7 separate regions of the Homo sapiens genome follow, and all the other regions are linked to region 1. Evidence: promoter capture Hi-C in 16 types of primary human blood cells and fetal thymus (Javierre and others, 2016). All regions are on one chromosome and are shown on one strand. Each heading gives the region's core, a stretch centred on a gene start or on the middle of the fragment in contact. The rest is flanking DNA. Distances are from core to core; before and after follow the strand shown.

Region 1 (2,893 bases), core at 174-2,673:
GCAGTGGCGTGATCCAGTTCACTGCAAGCTCCGCCTCCCGGGTTCACGCCATTCTCCTGCCTCAGCCTCCGGAGCAGCTGGGACTACGGGCGCCCGCCACCACGCCCAGCCAATTTTCTGCATTTTTAGTAGAGACGGAGTTTCATCGTGTTAGCCAGGCTGGTCTTGAACTCCTGACCTCAGGTGATCTGCCCGCCTCTGCCTCCCAAAGTGTTGGGATTACAGGCGTGAGCCACCGCGCCCGGCCCACAGATGACTTCTAAATGAATGTCTCCAGTACTGATCTCCTCAGAACTCATTTCTTGATGATTTTTTACATTCACATTTCTAAATTTCTTGTAGGAAACCACAAATTAGTGTCTTTCAACTAAAGGACATTAAAAGAAGACTAAGGTCAGGTTTAGAGACAGACAAGTTTGTGTGTATGAGTTAATGTTTGCATATACTGCAAAGATAAACCAAATTAATTTTAGATTTTTGTTGCTTTATATTAATCAACTTTTTCTATACGTTAAACTTGGTCCTCAGTTTTTAGGGCATATGAGTATAGAAACCCAAGATAGCTTATCATCAGGCTGATAACATGTGCTTTACATTTTTCAATCTTCCAAATATTTCATAATATATTATCTTGAATATCAATAGCACACTTCTATAAGTGTTCGACAACTTATAGAAAATATGCATTTCTAAAATTCAAGTTGGCAGACCGAAAAGAATACCACACAGTTTCCTAAAGGCTTGTGACAGTAAGTTAGGCTGGACTTTCAACATAATGGAATATTTACCAAATAAAAGGCCACTGATTTTTGTATTAGACAAAGACATCTGGAAATTTCTAGATGGATTTAGGGATTCTGGTCATTCTAAGGAGAATCTAGAGGTAAGCCCCATCTGACTCATGGGCATATTCCAAGTTATCATTTCCTTTCCTACATCCTTACAAGGTTCCAGGAGAATCTGTCAATGGCTCTGAAGCCAGGCTCAGGAGGGAACTGGTATTCAGCGAATGGGACACTTTGCTTCATTCCTTCATTATAAGCTCCCCTGCAAGCTTTGTGCAGAGGGGCGGGAAAAGGGGCTATCACCCCCTTAAATGAATAGCCGAGTTGGTATGTAATATAAGATCTATTTTGCTTGTTATTCATTAATTGGGAAGCAAACATAGGTAAAATCACATAATGGTGGAGGTTACCCCGTTTGAAACAAACTAACCACAGTCACTATGACACCCCCAGCTGGTGGCTAGCCCGACCAACCTTCCCAGCTCCGCGCGCCCAGTGGGGGCCGGAAAAGCGCGGGAGGGGGCGTGGCCCCGAGAAGGCGGAGACAAGATGGCCGCCCATAGCGCTTGGAGGACCTAAGAGGCGGTGGCCGGGGCCACGCCCCGGGCAGGAGGGCCGCTCTGTGCGCGCCCGCTCTATGATGCTTGCGCGCGTCCCCCGCGCGCCGCGCTGCGGGCGGGGCGGGTCTCCGGGATTCCAAGGGCTCGGTTACGGAAGAAGCGCAGCGCCGGCTGGGGAGGGGGCTGGATGCGCGCGCACCCGGGGGGAGGCCGCTGCTGCCCGGAGCAGGAGGAGGGGGAGAGTGCGGCGGGCGGCAGCGGCGCTGGCGGCGACTCCGCCATAGAGCAGGGGGGCCAGGGCAGCGCGCTCGCCCCGTCCCCGGTGAGCGGCGTGCGCAGGGAAGGCGCTCGGGGCGGCGGCCGTGGCCGGGGGCGGTGGAAGCAGGCGGGCCGGGGCGGCGGCGTCTGTGGCCGTGGCCGGGGCCGGGGCCGTGGCCGGGGACGGGGACGGGGCCGGGGCCGGGGCCGCGGCCGTCCCCCGAGTGGCGGCAGCGGCCTTGGCGGCGACGGCGGCGGCTGCGGCGGCGGCGGCAGCGGTGGCGGCGGCGCCCCCCGGCGGGAGCCGGTCCCTTTCCCGTCGGGGAGCGCGGGGCCGGGGCCCAGGGGACCCCGGGCCACGGAGAGCGGGAAGAGGATGGATTGCCCGGCCCTCCCCCCCGGATGGAAGAAGGAGGAAGTGATCCGAAAATCTGGGCTAAGTGCTGGCAAGAGCGATGTCTACTACTTCAGGTACCTCCCTGGGGGCGGGGAGGGGGTGGCGGGGTCAGGCCGGGGTCAGGGGTCAAGAGCGGGCCTGGGCAGAGGATGAGCGCTGGGGCCCGGGGGGCATGTGGCAGGGACAGGCTGGTTTGGTGGTGGAAGGTGGCGGAACCCTTGGGTGAGAGTTGACCCCAGTGCGGTGGGAGGCAGTGTCAAAAGGTGAGGGCCCGCAGGAGGGCATCTTATGTGGAAGGCGTCGGGGAAGATGGTTTGCGAAGAAAGGGTTAGCCTGGCAGGGATGGTTAGTCCACTGAAGGGTTAAAAGGAGGTGTAATTCATCGAAACTATAAAACCCAGTCACTGTTGGCTCCTGTCCCAGCCTGTCCCAGATTCATCATCACAAGTGTTAAGCATGCACATGTGGAAGAATGAGCTATCTACAGTAACAAGGTTTCATTTACTTCATCCAAGAAAGTTTTGTATAAAGCAGCTATTTGGAATGCCTGAAGTTTTTTTGGAACTTCTTGGTATTGCAGAATATACTCTTTTGAAACTGACACACTGTACTAAGTTTTTAGACTCCTAGACCAAAATTTGCTCCCCAGGGAACATTTGTCAATGTCTGGAGACATTTTCGGTTCTCACACCTGGGGAGGGTGTGATACTGGCATCTAGTGGGTAGAGGCCAGAGATGCTGCTACATATTCGATAATACAAAGGAAAGCTGCCACAACAAAGAATGATCTGGCCCAAATTGTCACCTGTGCTGAGGTTGAGACATCCTGTTTTAAATGATTCAAGGTTTTTCACCTTAGTGTAATCTTGCAATCCCGTGGTCATGCTGCTGAT
Region 2 (2,893 bases), core at 252-2,751, 3.3 Mb after region 1:
AGGCCTGTCATACCATCCCTGCTGTGAGAAGTCACTGGCTAAGAGCAGCCCACAGGAGGCATGGCTTCCATGTGAAAGCCATGATGAATTTCAGAGCGCAGCAATTGGGGATGGTAGTTACTTATATTCCCAGCAGTTGGAGATCTGCGAGGTTGTAAGTGTAATTTTTAGATCAGCTTGAGAAAGAAAATCATTTGTTTTTGAAGTTGTATTCTATTCAGTTTAGACACAGACCAGGTGGTATTTGAGGTCCACACTGTTCAGGATTCAAGAACAGAGCAGTTGTATTTGGGGAAGGAGGTGCTGCTGACCCACTGCTCTTGCTGAGGTATCTAGGTGTTATTTGCTATAGAGGCAACGATAGGCCTTTATTGGTCTGGCTACCTATTTCAGCCTCCATGCAAGTTGGGGCCTTTCACCATGCCAGCCCTCCCAATAAAGAAGTATGATGGAGTTGTCAAAAAGTGGTGTAGGCCGGCCGGGCACGGTGGCTCACGCCTGTAATCCCAGCACTCTGGGAGGCTGAGGTGGGAGAATCACCTGCACTCAGGAGGCAGAGGCTGCAATGAGCTGAGATCGCCCCACTGCACTCCAGCCTGTGTGACAGAGTGAGAACCTGTCTCAAAAAAAAAAAGAGGCGTAGGCTAGTTTTTCTCAACCTATCCCGGGAAAAGAAAGGGCCCTTTCATGAAGGTGATGGACTCTCTCCCTCCAAGAGACACAAGCATAGGATCATGTATTATTTCAGGGGCTTCGTGGACTCCTGGGAGCTATTCATGAATCCTGAGGCAAAAAAAGAACTTTTATCTGAGGGTCTCAGTAGGTATTTGTTATTATATAATTCCCCCCTTCATCACAAAATCAACATAGTCTCTCCTGATTTAGTATCTTAACATTAGGGTCTTGGTGTTTGCGTGTGAGAAGTGGGGAGAAGAAAAGGCGATAGAGAATTCCTTTAGTATCATAATTAAATCAAGTAAGAAGAGGAATAGGGTAGGGAGCTCAACAAAAGGGAATGAAAAGATGAGGAGCAAAACTAGTACTCCATAGGTGAATTTAAGTCCAACAATACATTCCCAAGAGATCAAGTATTCTGGAGAGAGAGAGAAAGAGAGAGAGTGTGTGTTAAGGTTTATATTACCAAGTTTTAAAAGTGTCCTATACACAGAGCCTTTAAAAACAAGATCATAAAGCATTTTATGCTTAAGAAAATTTTACTAAGAAAATATAAGAACACACATCTCATTACAACATATCACAACAGAGAAAAAATAATTCACATAATTCTGAAGTTTTTAGACTGATTCTTGGAACCATTTTTAACAAGTCAATCTGGTATAATATGTTCTATACAAGGCATTCCTCTTAAACTAGCATTCCCATAAGCAATTACTACAAGACTACCCATTCCGTCATCTTATCAACACTCAGATGTGAAAGGCTAAGCAATGACTTGCAATACGTGGCTTCCTTGAAGTCAATAATTAGTGCTTGGTATGTTAACAAAGGGAACACAAAAATATCAACTGCAAAAGTACGGTTTTAATTTCAGTTAAATTTAAAGGTCATTAGACAAAGTATAATAAAACATTGGGCAGACATTTTATATTGTCATATATTTAGCTAAACTAGGTCTTTTAAGAAAGTTCTTATTTCATACACATTTTTATATTACTACTTTCTAATTATTCTCACCTTTCAATGGAATATGTGTATACAATACATAGATATCACTTAAAATATACCTTATAATTGAATTGCAAATTGACAGGTGGATTCCTAAAGTGAATATTATAATATATAAGCACAACTGAAATTTATTTGCACAGAAGTGTTAACAGTTGTTGATTCTGTGAAGATTACCAAATCAAAAGATGTTAGTGAATTGGCTACTGAGACTTTTTGGTGTAATTTATTAAATTCAACACCAAATCTTTAATGTTCGTGTCGAATACTTAAAATGCTGAAGACTAAATGAATAAGACGTTTATATTATATTTGAATTATAAATGGGAACAAAGTAAAAATCAGATGAACTGGTAAAAGACTAAGTGAGGCCGGGCGCGGTGGCTCACGCCTGTAATCCCAGCACTTTGGGAGGCCGAGGCGGGTGGATCATGAGGTCAGGAGATCGAGACCATCCTGGCTAACACGGTGAAACCCCGTCTCTACTAAAAATACAAAAAATTAGCTGGGCGAGGTGGCGGGCGCCTGTAGTCCGAGCTACTCGGAAGGCTGAGGCAGGAGAATGGCATAACCCGGGAGGCGGAGCTTGCAGTGAGCTGAGATTGCGCCACTGCACTCCAGCCTGGGAGACAGAGCAAGGCTGTCTCAAAGAAAAGAAAAAAAAAAAAAAAAAAGAATAAGTGAGAATTCTCATCTGAAGTAACAATTCATGAAGGTATTAGATGAAATTGCCTACACAGAAGGCTTTCTTCACTGAGAGGGGTTTGAGCTAAAAACCCAGGCTCTGCCACACATCATAAGACCTTTGACAAGTCATTTAACCTCTCTGTGCCTCTGTCTCTGTCTGTAAATCAGGCACAGAAACAGAGGGTAAACAGAGGATTAAATATGTCGGATCCTTAGAACAGTGTCTGGTATAGAGTAGGTATTAACCACAAACTTTAGTTTGTCATTATCGGCCCACTGTATATACCAAATGTGTTGGTGATAATCCAATGGCTGTATAGGAATCAACGATTTGCTTGAATATATACTTAAAACTAGGAAAGGAAAAATTACTTTTCTAGAACATAAAAGAAAATCCTGAAAACCACTGAATATATACCCACAAGTTTCCCCTAGTCTTAACATTAAAAAGTGTGCTGAATGGAGGAATAACTCCCAATTGCAAAGTTTTTATTTGGAAAAAACAAGATTCTATAGCCAT
Region 3 (2,893 bases), core at 197-2,696, 3.3 Mb after region 1:
ATCCTAGCTCAACTGTTAACAATCTCTGGGATGCCTTCTATTAATGAATGAATGGTCAGTTACTTCCCCCTCCTTTGTGCTCCAAAGTACTTAGAAAATACTTCCATTATTCTACTTATCACATTACATGATTGATTACTGTCCGTTTGCATGTCAGTTTCCATCACTGGACCAAGAGATCCCTGAACACTAGAAGTATCTTTCCTTTAGTCACCAAGTGCCAGGTACTGTGAAGAGTTGTAGGAATAATGACTTCAATACTATTTATCAAGACCTAATAAGTGAGAGGCACTGTGCTAAGTTGCTAAACGTCTTATCCATTCACTAAAGTAAGTTCCATGATCATTTATATACTTAGTAGATGCCTAGTTGAACAGATATAACTAGGCATCTACTAGGTATATAAATGATCATGGAACGTACTTTACAGTATAGGGAGATAAAGAACACAGAAACAAACTAAATAACATAATTTCAGATACTGATGATGCTAAGAAGTCAATAAAAATAGGACAAAGTAAAGGAATGACTGGGGTGAGAGAGGAACTACTTAATCCAGGAGGATTTGGGAAAGCCTCTGAGAAGATGGCATCTGAGCTAAGATTTAACTGAGAAAGAGGCAATCACACAGAGAATAAATGATTACATGTAATTCTCATAACACCCTTTCTAAGTAGACTTTTTATCCCCATTTTCAAGATCGGGAAAGTAAAGTTGAAGTTTGCTGATATGCTAAGGTCACAGGCCCAAGACACAGCCAGGACTAGAACCCAGGTCTGCCTGACTCTGAGCTGAAGCTTTTCACCACTGGACTGCTCTATCTCCCAGGTGCTGGCCTCTGCTCACTCCATTCCCCCTGATTGAAATGCCCTTCTTCTCCTCAGCCCTGAAATTCCTCCTCCTCCTTTGACAATCCACAGGTCAACTTCTCTGAGAAGTTTACCCTGATAACCCCAAGAGGAAAACAACATCTCCCTCCTCCAAACATTTCCTACCCTTTGCATCCTCTCATGAAAACTATCTCCTGGTGGAGGTAAGTATGTACACTGCTTCCTTGCTAAGGCAGTGTTCATCTAATATGCCTGGTGTATCCCACGACATTTCCCAAACCCCAAGCCTACATGAATCCTTGCTTTCAGCATCTACAGGATAAATGAAAAGCAAGTAAATAAGTAAATGAAGTTCAGTGGACGTGGCCAGATGCCTGCAGGCCTTCCAAGTCTCACCAGGGTGTAGCACTGAAGTGGGATGCAACCATCAGGGCTGTTTCTAAACAAAATGTCCAAGGAGAGCCAAGAAAATGAAGCAGAACAACAAAAAAATCTTAATGAGATAGCTGAAGGCACACTAACCTGCTTTAAGTTGGCTTTTCATAAGCTGTGTCTGTGTTCCCTCCCCACAGTCAAAGAGCCAGCACTCGCCTTCACACCGAAGGACCACAGCAGAGGCACCCCGGGTTGGAGATGGGTATGCTGCACCCGTCCCCAGGAATGTCACATCCATAGACATCTTCCACCCTGCAACAGAAAGATCATCTGGGGATTATTTCATATCACTGTACCAAAAACATATTCCTGTAATATTTATCTCTATTATTACTTTTTGGTTATTTAGAACAGTCTGGATTCTTGGTCTCTCATAGTATTCCACACATATCCACAGTAAGGTTTTAATAACTTGGCTAAAACTACAAGTTAACAAATCTTGTATAATTGTTCACACACCCAAACAAACAAAAATAACCAAACCCAGGCAATTAAAAACTATAGCTGAATTCTAACTATATGATGTTCTCAAAAAGGCAAAACTATGGAGACAGTAAAAATCGTGCTTGCTAGTGATACAGGGTGAGAGAAGGAAGAATGAACAGGCAGAGCACAGGGGATGTTTAAGGCAGTGAAACGATTCTGTATGATACAGTAAGACAGACATATGTCATTATACATTGGTCAACTGTACACAGAATAAACACCACTAGAGTGAATGAGCTCTAATGTAAACTTTAGTTGACAGTGTATCTGTATCAATATTGGCTCAACAACTGTAACACATGTAGCACATTTTTCATTTTTTTTTCATGAGCCCTTAAGCTTCTGAACATATACCGCATTAATGCAAGATGTTAATAAGGGGAAACTGAGGGGTGAGGGATAAGAGAGTATATGGGAACACTCTGTACTTTCTACTTACTAATTTTTTTAAAAAAAATCCTTCTAATAAACACTAAACAACAACAACTCTAGTTGAGATACAGGGCAAGAGATGGTATTTAATGATACTCACCATATGGTGTCTCTGATGCCCATAATGATCAGCCCTTTCCCTTTCTCTGAACAATCATAACAGTAATGCTCTATTATGCTCTATAGTCATGCTGATATTTCACAATAATGCTGAACAAATGTCTCACTCCCTACATGACATGGTCCATGACTCACGAGGACTTGGGACTCTGCTATTTTAAGTGATCAGCAACAACCTGTTGAATGTGCAGGTTTATTCCAACTCCTGGCACTATTCCTTTCACTATTTCTAGGTACATCTGACATCACTGATATACTTCTGAGATGGAATATATGTATCAAACAGAATATATTAGAATGAACTGAAATTTATACATAACTGATTATAGATTATCCACATTGATGGCAGGGAAGAAAACAAAGAAGCTTAAGAAAAACTACTGTAAGAGAATTTGACTGACAGCTAGATATAAAATATACAAAAACTTCAGTAACTCTTCTCAGTCTTAGCAATAACAAGATAAAAACAGAAATGGGGGAAAAACCCATTCTAAGAGCAAAAACAAAATTACCAGAAATAAAGTTAGCAGGAAAGGAACAGCACCCAAAAGATTCACACGAATAAAAGATACACATTATGTCCCTGATAG
Region 4 (2,893 bases), core at 242-2,741, 3.2 Mb after region 1:
CCACTAGCTTTCCAATCTCATTTGATAACTCTATTGTTCAAGTTGTTCAGACCAAAAACCCTGAGCAGTTTCACTTTAATTTCATCACCATGAACCTCAAGTAAATCCTTAGTGCTGTCCAGCAATTCTGGATTCCCCTCGTTTTCTCACACCCATGTCTAATCCACAGAGCATCCCTAACCACCTCCACTGCTGCTCCCTGGTCTGAGCCACCATCATCTCATCTTTGGATTCATCTTCTAAAAGCTCTCCCTGTTCTCATGCTTGCCTCTTCCCAACATAATAGCTAGAGAGATCCTTTTAAAATAGAAGTCAGGGCCAGGCACAGTGGCTCACGCCTATAATCCCAGCACTTTGGGAGGCCAAGGCGGGCAGATCACGAGGTCAGGAGATTGAGACCATCCTGGCTAACCCGGTGAAACCCTGTCTCTACTAAAAATTACAAAAAAATTAGCCGGGCGTGGTGGCGGGCGCCTGTAGTCCCAGCTACTCGGGAGGCTGAGGCAGGAAAATGGCGTGAACCCAGGAGGCGGAGCTTACAGTGAGTGGAGATCGCGCCACTGCACTCCAGCCTGGGTGACAGAGCAAGACTCCGTCTCAAAAAAAAAAAAAAAAAAGTCAGACATCTGCACTCTGCTTAAATCCCTGCATTAAATGATCCTCATTTCATTTAGAGTAAAAATCTACATCCTTACAATAGTCTAAAGGGTTCTATAAGATCAGCATCACCACTCCACCCTGAGCATTACTTCTCTAATCTCATTTCCTATCAGTCATTCTCCAATATGTCCTAACCTTCCCGACCTCTTTTCTTGTCCCTAGAAGATGCCAGCCATGCTCCCAAGTTAGGGCCTCTGCACTGGCTGTGCCCTCTGCCTTGTACATGTTTCCCCCAGATATCTGCATTGCCAACTCTCTCACCTCCTTTGGTCAAAAGTTACCTCATTGAAGCCTATCTTGACCTTTTAAAAATCACAGCCCATTCTTAACTCTCACAGTACACCCAAAGCCCCTTTACCCTGCTTTCTGTTTTACTATAGCACTTCTGACATACTATATGATTTACTTATGTGTTGTGTTTATTGTTTATTGCCTATTACCCCCCGCTAGAATGTAAGCTCCATGAGGGCAAGGATTTATCTGTAGTGTTTACCAGTGTATCCCAAGTGCCTAGAGTAGCTATTGACACGTAGGAGGTGCTCAATAAATATTTGTTGAATGAATGAACAAGGTGTTTGTGCTTCTATCCATAGAAGTGAAAACTAGGATTAGGTTTGACCCAATTCTATTTCATTCAGCAAAAATATCCTTTAATTTTAATAGATACCAAAATATGTAATATTTTATGTTGTTTAGATCAATTAGATATTAAAATTATACAATCAAAATGAGCTTTTTAAGCTTATCAGACTCAGTCAAGAATTTTTTTAAAAAAATTTTTTTGTAGGGAAATATGATAGGTTGATCAATAAAAGACTCTCCAGCTTAAAATATTATATTAAAATATTGAGGGGTAAGTGGAATGGAAATACAAGATAAGAAAAAAAAAGTGATGTAAAATTTACTTTAAAGAAAAGCTTGTTCATATATTTTTTAAATGGTTGATAGATGCATTATGATCTTTAAATTTCCTTGGATACGTTTAAAGAATGATGTAACAATCTTATTTTAAAATGCCAATACTTACGCCAGAAATAACAAACCTTACTATTATTTAAACTTGTGATGAAACATTTTAGATATGACCTTTAAAAGTTCAAGAAGAAACAGTTTTAGCCAGGCGTGATGGCTCATGCCTGTAATCCCAGCCACTCAGGAGGCTGAGGTGAGAGGATTGCTTGAGCCCAGGAGTTTGAGGCTGCAGTGGGCCGTGATCATGCCACTGCACTCTAGCCTAAGTGACAGAATGAGACCCTATCTCTTATTTTAAAAAAAAGGACGGAAGGAAGGAGAGAGAAAGAAAGAAAAAGGAAAGAAAGGAAGGAAGAAAAAAACACAGTTTTTCAAATTTCTTTTAGGAGAAAAGCAAGCAAGAAATCTTGAAGACCATAGTTCCAAAGCACTCAAAGGGAGCCAAGCTACTGCCAGTTCCACATAGATCTCTGATAGGCGCAGGCAAAGACTTGAAAGGTTTATTTTCCTTTTGTTTTATTTAATGGTTTTACCTCCTATGAATAGGAGCTTTCTAAGGGTGAGGAGAATATAGAAGTTTAATCTTTTCATCCTTGGGATGGAGACAGAGTGCTCTTCCCTCAAGTAAAGGACCTCCTGGCACAAGTTAGCATCATGATATTTTAGTGTCAACCCAATGTTTTGGGTTTGGTTTGGTTTTGTTTTTTAGAGATGGAGTCTTGCTGTGTTGCCTTGGCTGGACTCAGACTCCTGCGTTCAAGTGATCCTCCTGCCTCAGCCTTCTGAGTAGCTGGGGACTACAGACATGCACCACTGCACCCAGTTTAATCCAGTGATTTTTAAAATAATTCCAGTTGCTCCTGAAAATTACTTGACATCAATTAACCTAAATATTACAAGTGATTCCCACATTCCTAAAAGCAATAAAATAAACTCTGTCATCTCTTTGGCTTAAAGTATACAGCCATAGAAATGTATTACCTATTCAAAATATTAGATTGAAACTGGATTCAAACTTGAGATTCAAAATGACTGGAATCCAGGCTGTGTCTGGAATATTCTTGTTCCTGTCCTTTAGGACTCAGTGGTCCTCTAGGAATGGTGCCCTGCTGTGTCAGAGTTGGCTGCCCTTTCTTTCTGCTCCCAGACTAGGCTGTGAGTTCCCTGAAGATAGAGGTTCTCCTTCCCCCACGTTCTCTGAGTGCCCAACACTGGGCTTGCCCATGGCAAGTGTCAGAGAAGCGAGAGATGAGGCTGGGAA
Region 5 (2,893 bases), core at 205-2,704, 3.2 Mb after region 1:
TTTTATTCTGTGGAATTGTCTTACAACAAATTAGAAGAGTGCAGACACTTTTGAAGTCATTTTCTGATATTATATTCCAAAAGATGTGTATGAATCTACAATGCAATTAAAATGTTTAAGTGTTAACTATTTCACCACAATCTCACCATCAAATGTCATCATTTCTAAAATTTATGCTATGCTGGGGCCTTAACGGTATCTCAAAGTTTGTTTTAATACCAAGTTGCTTTGAATACAAATGATAATGACCTCGCTTTCTTAAACAAACAGCTTTCTCATCTCTCTCTTTATTGTATTCCTATGACCACAAGTGCCTGAAACATAATTAAAAGTTATGCATATAAAAAATAATACTAGCAGGAATAAAGAGATGTATTCCTACATTAAATGGTTCTAGATTATGGAAGTATGGTAGGCAAGAGCATAATATCGATATAAATAAAATTATATATTCTAATTAAAGGTCTAGCCGCATGACTGAATGTTAACATCTCTCTCAATTCTCTCATCTATAAAATGGAAACACCTGCCCTGACAACTTCACAAATTTATTGTGGTAATTAGATGCAACAACGTACATAAAAGAAATGTGGGAAACATAAATTGACCAATTCAACAAACACTGTATATACAAAGCACTACAGATACAAAAACAGGAAGCCCATAGTAAGAAAGTGGGTCTGGACTCTCTCAGACCAACATCCCATTTTTTTTCCAACAAATAATTTATATCACCACCTTAGCTTTACTGAAACAAAATTCTAAACTACTTAAACATATTTTGAAAATTTAACAATGCCCTAACTATAACAAAAAGGAGGAAAAGCTTAATATATAATGTGTACTTCCACCTATAAATACTCAGGCATGCCAACTAAGTTAGAATGTATAATAAAGAAGTTAGATGCTAGCACTTATATACAGAATCATTACAAATGTGACAGCTACAAATTCAGACCTTCCAAGACAAACGTGTTATACTGGCAACTCAAATAGCACAATGGCACTGCAGTCAGTAACATGGATTTTCCCAAATGGTGAACTCTTAAACAACTTGAACTAAGAAAATGAATTAACAAGAGGCTGGGGCAGGAGGACTGCTTGAGCCCAGGAGACCAAGGCTACGGTGAGCTATGACTGAGCCACTGCACTCCAGCCCAAGTGACAGAGTAAGATTTGGTCTCAAAAATAAAAAACAAAACAACCAAGTCCGGGTACAGTGGCTCATGCCTGTAATCCCAGCACTTTAAGAGGCCGACATGGTTGGATCACTTAAGCTCAGGACCAGCCTGGCAACAAAGGCACGGTTGCCAGGACCAGCCTGGCAACAAAGTGAGACCTCCTCTCTACAAAAAATACAAAAAATTAGTGGGGCATGGTGGCACATGCCTATAGTCCCAGCTACTCAGAAGGCTGAGGTGGGAGGACGGCTTGAGCCTGGGAGGCAGAGGTTGCAGTGAGCCAAGATCACGCCACTGCACTCCAGCCTGGGTAACAGAGCCTGAAGTAAGGGAGGGAGGCAGGGAGGGAGGAAGGAAAAAGAAAGAAAACAGAGAGAAAGAGAGAGGGAGAGAGGGAGGGAGGGAGGGAGGGAGGGAGGGAAGGAGGGAGGGAGGCAGGCAGGCAAGAAAAAAATGAATTAAAAGAAATTTAACTCCTGGCAAAGTGAATATATATTATAGAGTTAGGTTCTGGGCTAATTATATTTTCCTCCTACATGAATTTCTGGGGCATCTGAAAGTCTTGTGGGATGCAAGATAATTATTCGCTGTCTCTCACATTGCAGGATGGCATCCCTGGCCACCAATCCACCAAACCCATCCACAAATTTCTACAACATCCCTTAAAGAGCAGTACTTACTCCACTGAGAACTACTAATCTGGAAGACCCAAACATATTATTACATAAGTAATAAATGCTAAAAGAAGTAGGTATAAAGTGATTTGGGACTATAAATGAGGGAGCATGGAAAGTTCATAGGTAACCTAGGTCTTGGCACAACGTATCAGTCAGGATTGGCTAGTCTATGCTGCAGTGACAACCAACCCCCAAAAGATCAGTAGCTTAAAACAAAAGCTTATTTTCTGCTTAGGATATAATACACATTCATCACAGATCAACTGGGGGCACTGCTGTCATCGCTCAGAAATTAGACTGACAAAGGCTCCATTTCTACATATGTCCTTAAATGGCAGGAGAAGGGATAGGACAGCTCATATATCTTCTTTTAAAGGCTACCACTTCTGCTCATGTTTGACTGGCCAAAGTCATAAGGCCATGCCAGGAGTTCTCAACCAGGGGCAACTTTGTCCCTCAGGGGACACTTGGCAACATCTGGAGGCAATATATGGTCACAACTGGATACTACTGGGCATCTGGTGGCTAAAGGCCATGGTTGCTGCTAAATACCCTGCAATGCACTGGACAACACGCAAAATAAATTATCCAGCCTAAAATGTCAACAGTGCCAATGCAAGAAACTCTGGGCCATGCCTAATTTCAAGGTAGGGATGAGGGAGACAAAGAAGCACAATACTACCATGTGCCAGGGGACAGCCATCAGAATATTGGTAGAATAGTATTAATGGATTACCACATACGAATAAGAATTTGCCAGGCTGAAGGAAAATGATGAGGAAAAGCAGAGACGGATAAGAGCTTTGTCTAGAGTAGGTTCATGGTAGAAAGAGGAGAAAAAACAGCATTAGATTTGTATTAGAAAACTTCAGTGAGAGCCTGGAGAACAGCTTTGGAAAAGGAAATAGAAAACCAGTTAGGAAACAATTACCAGAAAAGCGGTAAGATCCTAGACTGGGGCATGGGCAATGGGCCAAGGAGGGGAGGGGGAAATCAGTGAGCTATTTCTAGGTAGAAAAGACTGGAGTCTTTAAC
Region 6 (2,893 bases), core at 109-2,608, 3.0 Mb after region 1:
AAAGGAGCTGAAATGATAGAAAGTGAAACTGCAGATAAGGGAGGGGGGCTACTGTAATTTAAAATAATATCAGTAGCACTAACCAAACGTCTAATCAATATGCTAAGACTAGTAAAGTGTATCATTTCTGTATATTTAATTTGTTTTTCTTTTCTAACTTAATCATATTTATTTGAAAAAGTAATGTGTATGTATGACTCAAAATTTATTAAAAAAAATAAATAAGAATATACAGTGAAAACTGCCTCCCTCCTTCCCTGTCCCCCTAGGTCAACCACTTTTATGAGTGTATAGCATTCCATTATATAGCTGTACCAGCCTCATGCTAATTCAAACAATAATTATAAAATACAGAAGTTATTTTGCACTTGTGCACATATTTCTACAGGATCAATTGTACAAGAAGATTGTAGAAGCGTAAGAATATATGGGCTTATAACTGTGATAGCTCTTAGAGGGCAGTTTATACTCTCACAGCTAAATATGAGAGTTCTTTTCCCCACTCTTTACTAGCATTGTTGTAAGGTTTTTGTTATTTGACAATCTTATAGGTAGAAAATAATAGGTCAGTTCCCTTGAAAATGGGAATTTCCATCTTCAGAGCCATTTGTATATTTACTTTGATGTTAGCTGTTTCTTTCACCCTTTTATTGGGTTTTTGTTGTTTTGATTTGTAGGGGAGAGATGTGTGTGTGCATGCGTGTATGTGTGTGTTTGTGTGTGTGTAAGAAAGTGAGAAATTAGCCATTTCTAATAATGTTATAAATATTTTAGGTTTTTTTACTTTGTTTTTGGTGACTTGTGCCATGTAGCAACTTAAAAAATACAGGCTAATATATCATAATACGGCTTCTGAATTTTATTTCACTCTGAGATTATAAATTCTATTATTTTTAAAAATATCTTCGAGTTTTCAAATAAAAACTCAAAGTACTCAAAAAAGCTAATACCTTCGTCACCTGCAAAATTACAAAACAAGATTGTTTTTCTCCTTTAGTTTGTGTCACCTTTTAAAAAGTATCTATTCGAGTAGTCCCCAACATTAGAATGTATTTGTAGTTGAGAAATCATGTTAGTTGTTTGGAACTCAGAATATGTGTTCCTACAGAAACAGTGGTATGATTGGTGAGCTTCCCTATAATCCCTAATCTGAGTTTAGGATACTATAATCAAAAGATTTAGGGAAGTGAAGAAATAGTTTCCTCTGTCTTTATTGGCAGTGGCTTAAACTGGGTTGGTGGCCAGGCACGATGGCTCACGCCCGTAATCCCAGCACTTTGGGAGGCCAACGCGGGCAGATCACCTGAGTTCAGGAGTTTGAGACTAGCCTGGCCAACATGGTGAAAACCCGTCTCTACTAAGAATATATTTTAAAAATTACCCGGGTGTGGTGGTGGGCACCTGTAATCCCAGCTACTCGGGAGGCTGAGGCAGGAGAATTGCTTGAACCCAGGAGACGGAAGTTGCAGTGAGCCGATATGGTGCCACTGCACTCCAACCTGGGCGACAGAGACTCCATCTCAAAAAACAACAACAAAAAAAAACCAGGGTTGGCTTTGCTGTCTTCCTTTTACTTTTTTCCCTGATCTGCAAAACCTAATAAACACATGACCCTTTTGGGTGTAGACCAGGCCTGTCTTTCTCCCCTGTCTCAAGAGTGGCCCATGCTCAAACCATTTGTCTTCTCTGTACCCAATGAACCATACATTAAACACCTATTTATTAATACCAACCATAGGCTAGATAGTGTTCTGTGGACCCTCAAGCATATTTCCTCAGTTAATAATATACCTGTTAGGTATTTAACAGAAAATATTCTACTAAGGGTGTGACTGACAGTTGCTTATAGTATCAAAAGTATTTGATTAAGGGATTTTTACATAGTTTTCTTTTTTCTCTTTTATTTCTGTTTTCCTTTTTTTTCTTTTATTTATTTTCAGTTTTCTAATGGTCAATATTAGTAAGGGATGAAAGGGACCAACCCTAGACCCTTAGACTAATTCTCCCTTTGTCCTTAATGCAATTTGCCCAGTGTTTTTCTGCAGAATATTGTCTGTCTCTTGTTAGGAATGTAACTGTGGCTGACTGCCTTCTTGCCACCTTGTCAAGTTGTAGCCCACTGTGAACTTACATATCCAAATAGTAACTCCCCTGAGTATAGAATATGACCAGTTCTGTGTTTATACACCCCTTTCAGAATTTCTTAAGCATCAATAGAAAGTGATCTCAATTCTGCACACCAAACTGCACCTGCTGCACTAAATGAGGGAATCTCCTGGACATTTAGCCTGTATAAATGATACGTAGATGTGGAAGTTTCATTGTACTCTCTGTTCTTCTAACTGATTTTCTGTTGTAGAACAAAAGCACATACAGGCTGAACACTTCTAATCCGAAAATGTGAAATCCTAAATGCTCAAAAAGCCTCCGATTTTGTTTTAGAGCTCCAAAATCTGAGGCTTTTTGAGCACCAGCATAATGCTCAAAGAAAATACTCACTGGAGCATTTCAGATTTTCAGAGTAGGGATGCCCAACTGGCAGGTATGATGCAAATACTCCAAAATCTCAAACATTCCTGGTCCCATGTGTTTTTGGATAGGGGATAACTCAACCTGTGTAGTCAACACCTAGTGGCTTGGGAATGCTTTGGAAGGGCAAACAAACAAGTTCCACTTTGTGCAAAAAAGTGATCAGGTCATGTGCTTTATTAGAAAGCATCGGCCAGGTGCGGTGGCTCCCGCCTGTAATCCAGCACTTTGGGAGGCCGAGGCAGGCAGATTACTAGGTCAGGAGTTCAAGACCAGCCTGACCAACGTGGTGAAACCCCATCTCTACTAAAAATACAAAAAATTATCCAGGTGTGGTTGTGCATGCCTGTAGTCCCAGCTACTC
Region 7 (2,893 bases), core at 240-2,739, 3.0 Mb after region 1:
GTCATCTTTAACATGTGGCTTCCAAGTTCATCATACTCATTTACATCCACAGATAGAGGAGGAACAAGGATGATAATATGAGGGACTCTTGAAGGAAATTCTGTACACTTGGCTAAAACTCAGTCTTCCCAACCACAGTGGAGGCCAGGAAATGTAGTCTAGCTGTGTGCTCAGGAAGAGGAGGAAACAGATTTAGTGAACATCTAGCCAGTCTGTTTCATAGGCCTACAGAACCCCAAGAGATCCATGGGTAGACTTTAAGGGGTCGTTTAAGCATACAGAAATATACGAGAAATGTTGCCTTCATATGTATTTTCCTGGGGAGAGGAAGGGAAGGACTAGCCCTGATTCTATTGACTAGGAATGTAGGTTGGAAGAAGTCAAATGTAAGCTGAGGATTAAAAATGTGTGGAGATGGGGAAGGTGGGATAGAAGGTCAGGGCAATCTGAGCAGAAAAACAACACTAGCAAAGGCACAAAGATGGGATAGTACAATGCATATTTCAAAAACGGCCAAAGGTTCAGATTAGCTGTTGAACTGAGTTTATTTGAAATAATATCCATTTAGTTGGTCAGTCAGCAAGGACATACTGGCCCCTCCTAGGTACCAAGTGCTATGGTAAAGCTGGCTTTATAAAGAAGAGAAGAAGAGAGACAATTCCAGAACAAAGAATGCAAAGTGTTGCTAGGGACATAGAGGACACCATAAGAGCCAATTGCAGGACATCTACCTTACCTAATAGGTTAGGGAAGACACCCTAGAGGAAGTGATGTTTAAGCTGAGCTCTGAAGGACAACTTGTATTGACGTTAGCTTAGCTAAGAGTGAAAGGAGAGGCCAGGTGCCATGGCTCACACCTGTAATCCCAGCACTCTGGGAGGCCGAGGCGGGTGGATCACGTGAGGTCAGGAGTTCAAGACCAGCCTGGCCAACATGGTGAAACCCCTTCTCTACTAAAAAATACAAAAATTAGCATGGTGTGGTGGTGGGTGCCTGTAATCCCAGCTACTCAGGAGGCTGAGGCAGGAGAATTGCTTGAACCTGGGAGGTGGAGGTTGCAGTGAGCTGAGATTGCACCACTGCACTACAGCCTGGGCCACAGAGCAAGACTCCGTCTCCAAAAAAAAAAAAAAAAAAAAAAGACTGAAGGCAGAAGAGCCCTATTCCAGGCCTGGAGGCATAAGAAGAATATGTAGAATATATGAACACTTGCCAGAAGGCCTTTATGGTAAGAACAACAATGTAAAAGGAAGCCTAGCATGAACAAGGATAAGAGGTAGACATAGCCCAGATGCAGAAGACCTTGTATGTTAGGAAATGTGGATATTATCCTAAGGACGACAAAAAGGGTTTTAAGAGAAGTAGAAGAAGTAATCCTGAATTAAAATTATTCCAGCTGCAGCATGGACAATGAATTAGAGTGGTGCAAGACTAGATGTAAGAATATTTGTCTTGGGGACTCCTGTTCATCATCTAGACTGTGGTAATGATGGTTCTGAACAGTTTTAGTCTCAGCACTTCTAACACCAAATGTATGGGGTTTTGTCTCCAAATCAAACAATGCTCCAACTTTCTGGACATCGAGTGGGTGTCTCAAAATTCAATTCAGTTCTGGCACTAACTACTTGGAGTTAACATAGATCCCATAGGTTAAGGGCTCAGCCCCACAAGACTGCCCCACTGCAGATGCCAACACAAGTTTTGAGTATCCAGGGTACCCAACCTTCTATCCAATTTGGCTACAAAGTCAGGGGTTCCCAGGGACACAAATATTTGCTAGAGTGGCTCACAGAACTCAGAAAAGCATCTTACTATTACTGGTTGAGTATAAAGGATCCGAACGAACAGCCAGGTGAAGAGGTACACAGGGTGAGATCTGGAAGGATCCTGTGCTCAGGAGCTTCTGTCCTAGTAGAGTTGGAGCACACTACCCTCCTGGTATGTGTGTGCCTTCACTAACCCAGAAGCTCTCCAAGGGTTTTTTTTTAATGGAGGTTTTATCATACATGCATGTTTATTAACTCAATCTCCTATCACCACCAATTATTCAGGAAATTACAAGAGTTTTAGGAGCTCTGTACCACAAATTATGGATAAAGATCAAAGATAAATTTCTTATTCTATCACAGTGGTAGAGATGCAGAAAGATGGATGGATTTGAGAATTGGTATGACCCTTAGAACCTGATCTTTGACTGGCTATGGGAGTTAAAGAAGAAGTCAAGAATGTCCACCAGGCTTTTGTCAAAAGAATGGAGTAGACAATGGTGCTATCTAGCACACTATTAAGCTGAAAATCAATTTTACCTGAGAAGATTTGTTTGAGAAATTGAGTTTAAACTGAGGTTGAATTTGAATTGCCAATTCCAGGTATCCATAAAACAGTGGGACTTGTGGGTCTGGAACTCAATGGAGAGATAAGAAATGGCAATATGTACTTGGGAACTGTCAACAAGGTAATAGAAGCCTTGGAAATGGATAAAAGTTTAGGTGGAGAGTATACAGTAAGCAAAAGCAGGCCTGACTGAGACTGATCTTTGATGGATGCCATATGTGAGTGATAGGAACACAGAGCCTTCTATGGAGACCAGGGCATGACCATGGAAGTAAGAAAAGCAGAGCTCAAGGAAGGGAAAGGAAGAGGTTGCTTTAAAGAGCAGTCAATAGTGTCAAATCCTGCCATGGAAAGGTTAAGCTGGATAAGGATAAAAAGCGCTCAATGGATTTACTGACAAGGTGAGAATAATTTCAGTGAAGCAGCAAGAGCCATGGCTGCATTGCAGTGCTTGGTAAAGAAATGGGCAGTGAGTGCAGACAGCTGATTGGAGAAGCTGATTGAAAGTAAAGAGGGTGGTGACAAGAGGGGGATGTGCTGTCAAGGAGGAGTTTCTGTT

Evidence for each region. The method cuts DNA at HindIII sites, captures the fragments that hold promoters and counts their contacts. A CHiCAGO score of 5 or more calls a contact.
Region 2: a contact is called between a fragment that was not itself captured here and the fragment with the promoter of MBD2 in region 1, in 5 of 17 cell types (activated CD4 T cells, total CD8 T cells, non-activated CD4 T cells and 2 more). The highest score is 11.0, in activated CD4 T cells.
Region 3: a fragment that was not itself captured here is called in contact with the fragment with the promoter of MBD2 in region 1 in 3 of 17 cell types (naive CD4 T cells, naive CD8 T cells and total CD8 T cells); the score reaches 6.0 in naive CD4 T cells.
Region 4: a contact is called between a fragment that was not itself captured here and the fragment with the promoter of MBD2 in region 1, in 8 of 17 cell types (non-activated CD4 T cells, naive CD8 T cells, total CD4 T cells and 5 more). The highest score is 15.1, in non-activated CD4 T cells.
Region 5: a fragment that was not itself captured here is called in contact with the fragment with the promoter of MBD2 in region 1 in 6 of 17 cell types (non-activated CD4 T cells, naive CD8 T cells, activated CD4 T cells and 3 more); the score reaches 18.9 in non-activated CD4 T cells.
Region 6: a contact is called between a fragment that was not itself captured here and the fragment with the promoter of MBD2 in region 1, in 4 of 17 cell types (total CD4 T cells, non-activated CD4 T cells, naive CD8 T cells and 1 more). The highest score is 12.2, in total CD4 T cells.
Region 7: a fragment that was not itself captured here is called in contact with the fragment with the promoter of MBD2 in region 1 in 8 of 17 cell types (non-activated CD4 T cells, naive CD8 T cells, total CD8 T cells and 5 more); the score reaches 12.9 in non-activated CD4 T cells.

The regions. Positions count from the first base shown.
Region 1 is chr18:54,223,199-54,226,091 of GRCh38, reverse strand. MBD2 (methyl-CpG binding domain protein 2) reads left to right here and starts at 1,423. Exons shown (of 7, transcript NM_003927.5): 1 at 1,423-2,074. The coding sequence starts at 1,533. RefSeq lists enhancers at 1-39, 40-582 and a silencer at 1,333-1,722. The HindIII fragment of the contact is 9,949 bases long and covers 1,057-2,893 here.
Region 2 is chr18:50,952,560-50,955,452 of GRCh38, reverse strand. ME2 (malic enzyme 2) reads right to left here. Exons shown (of 16, transcript NM_002396.5): 16 at 1,196-2,893. Among named protein-coding and RNA genes, the nearest start is that of ELAC1, 14 kb to the left of the region's middle. The HindIII fragment of the contact is 7,376 bases long and covers 1-2,893 here.
Region 3 is chr18:50,973,021-50,975,913 of GRCh38, reverse strand. ELAC1 (elaC ribonuclease Z 1) reads right to left here. Exons shown (of 4, transcript NM_018696.3): 2 at 1,353-1,517. The coding sequence starts at 1,509. It also overlaps a transcript of LOC107985152 not described here. Among named protein-coding and RNA genes, the nearest start is that of ELAC1, 6.4 kb to the right of the region's middle. The HindIII fragment of the contact is 1,293 bases long and covers 800-2,092 here.
Region 4 is chr18:51,021,703-51,024,595 of GRCh38, reverse strand. All of the region lies in intron 1 of LOC107985152 (a long non-coding RNA gene), which reads left to right. Among named protein-coding and RNA genes, the nearest start is that of SMAD4, 7.1 kb to the left of the region's middle. The HindIII fragment of the contact is 176 bases long and covers 1,404-1,579 here.
Region 5 is chr18:51,041,011-51,043,903 of GRCh38, reverse strand. All of the region lies in intron 1 of SMAD4 (SMAD family member 4), which reads right to left. Among named protein-coding and RNA genes, the nearest start is that of SMAD4, 12 kb to the right of the region's middle. The HindIII fragment of the contact is 1,251 bases long and covers 829-2,079 here.
Region 6 is chr18:51,179,129-51,182,021 of GRCh38, reverse strand. All of the region lies in intron 1 of MEX3C (mex-3 RNA binding family member C), which reads left to right. Among named protein-coding and RNA genes, the nearest start is that of MEX3C, 17 kb to the left of the region's middle. The HindIII fragment of the contact is 7,159 bases long and covers 1-2,893 here.
Region 7 is chr18:51,202,005-51,204,897 of GRCh38, reverse strand. No RefSeq gene overlaps it. Among named protein-coding and RNA genes, the nearest start is that of MEX3C, 5.8 kb to the right of the region's middle. The HindIII fragment of the contact is 3,570 bases long and covers 1-2,893 here.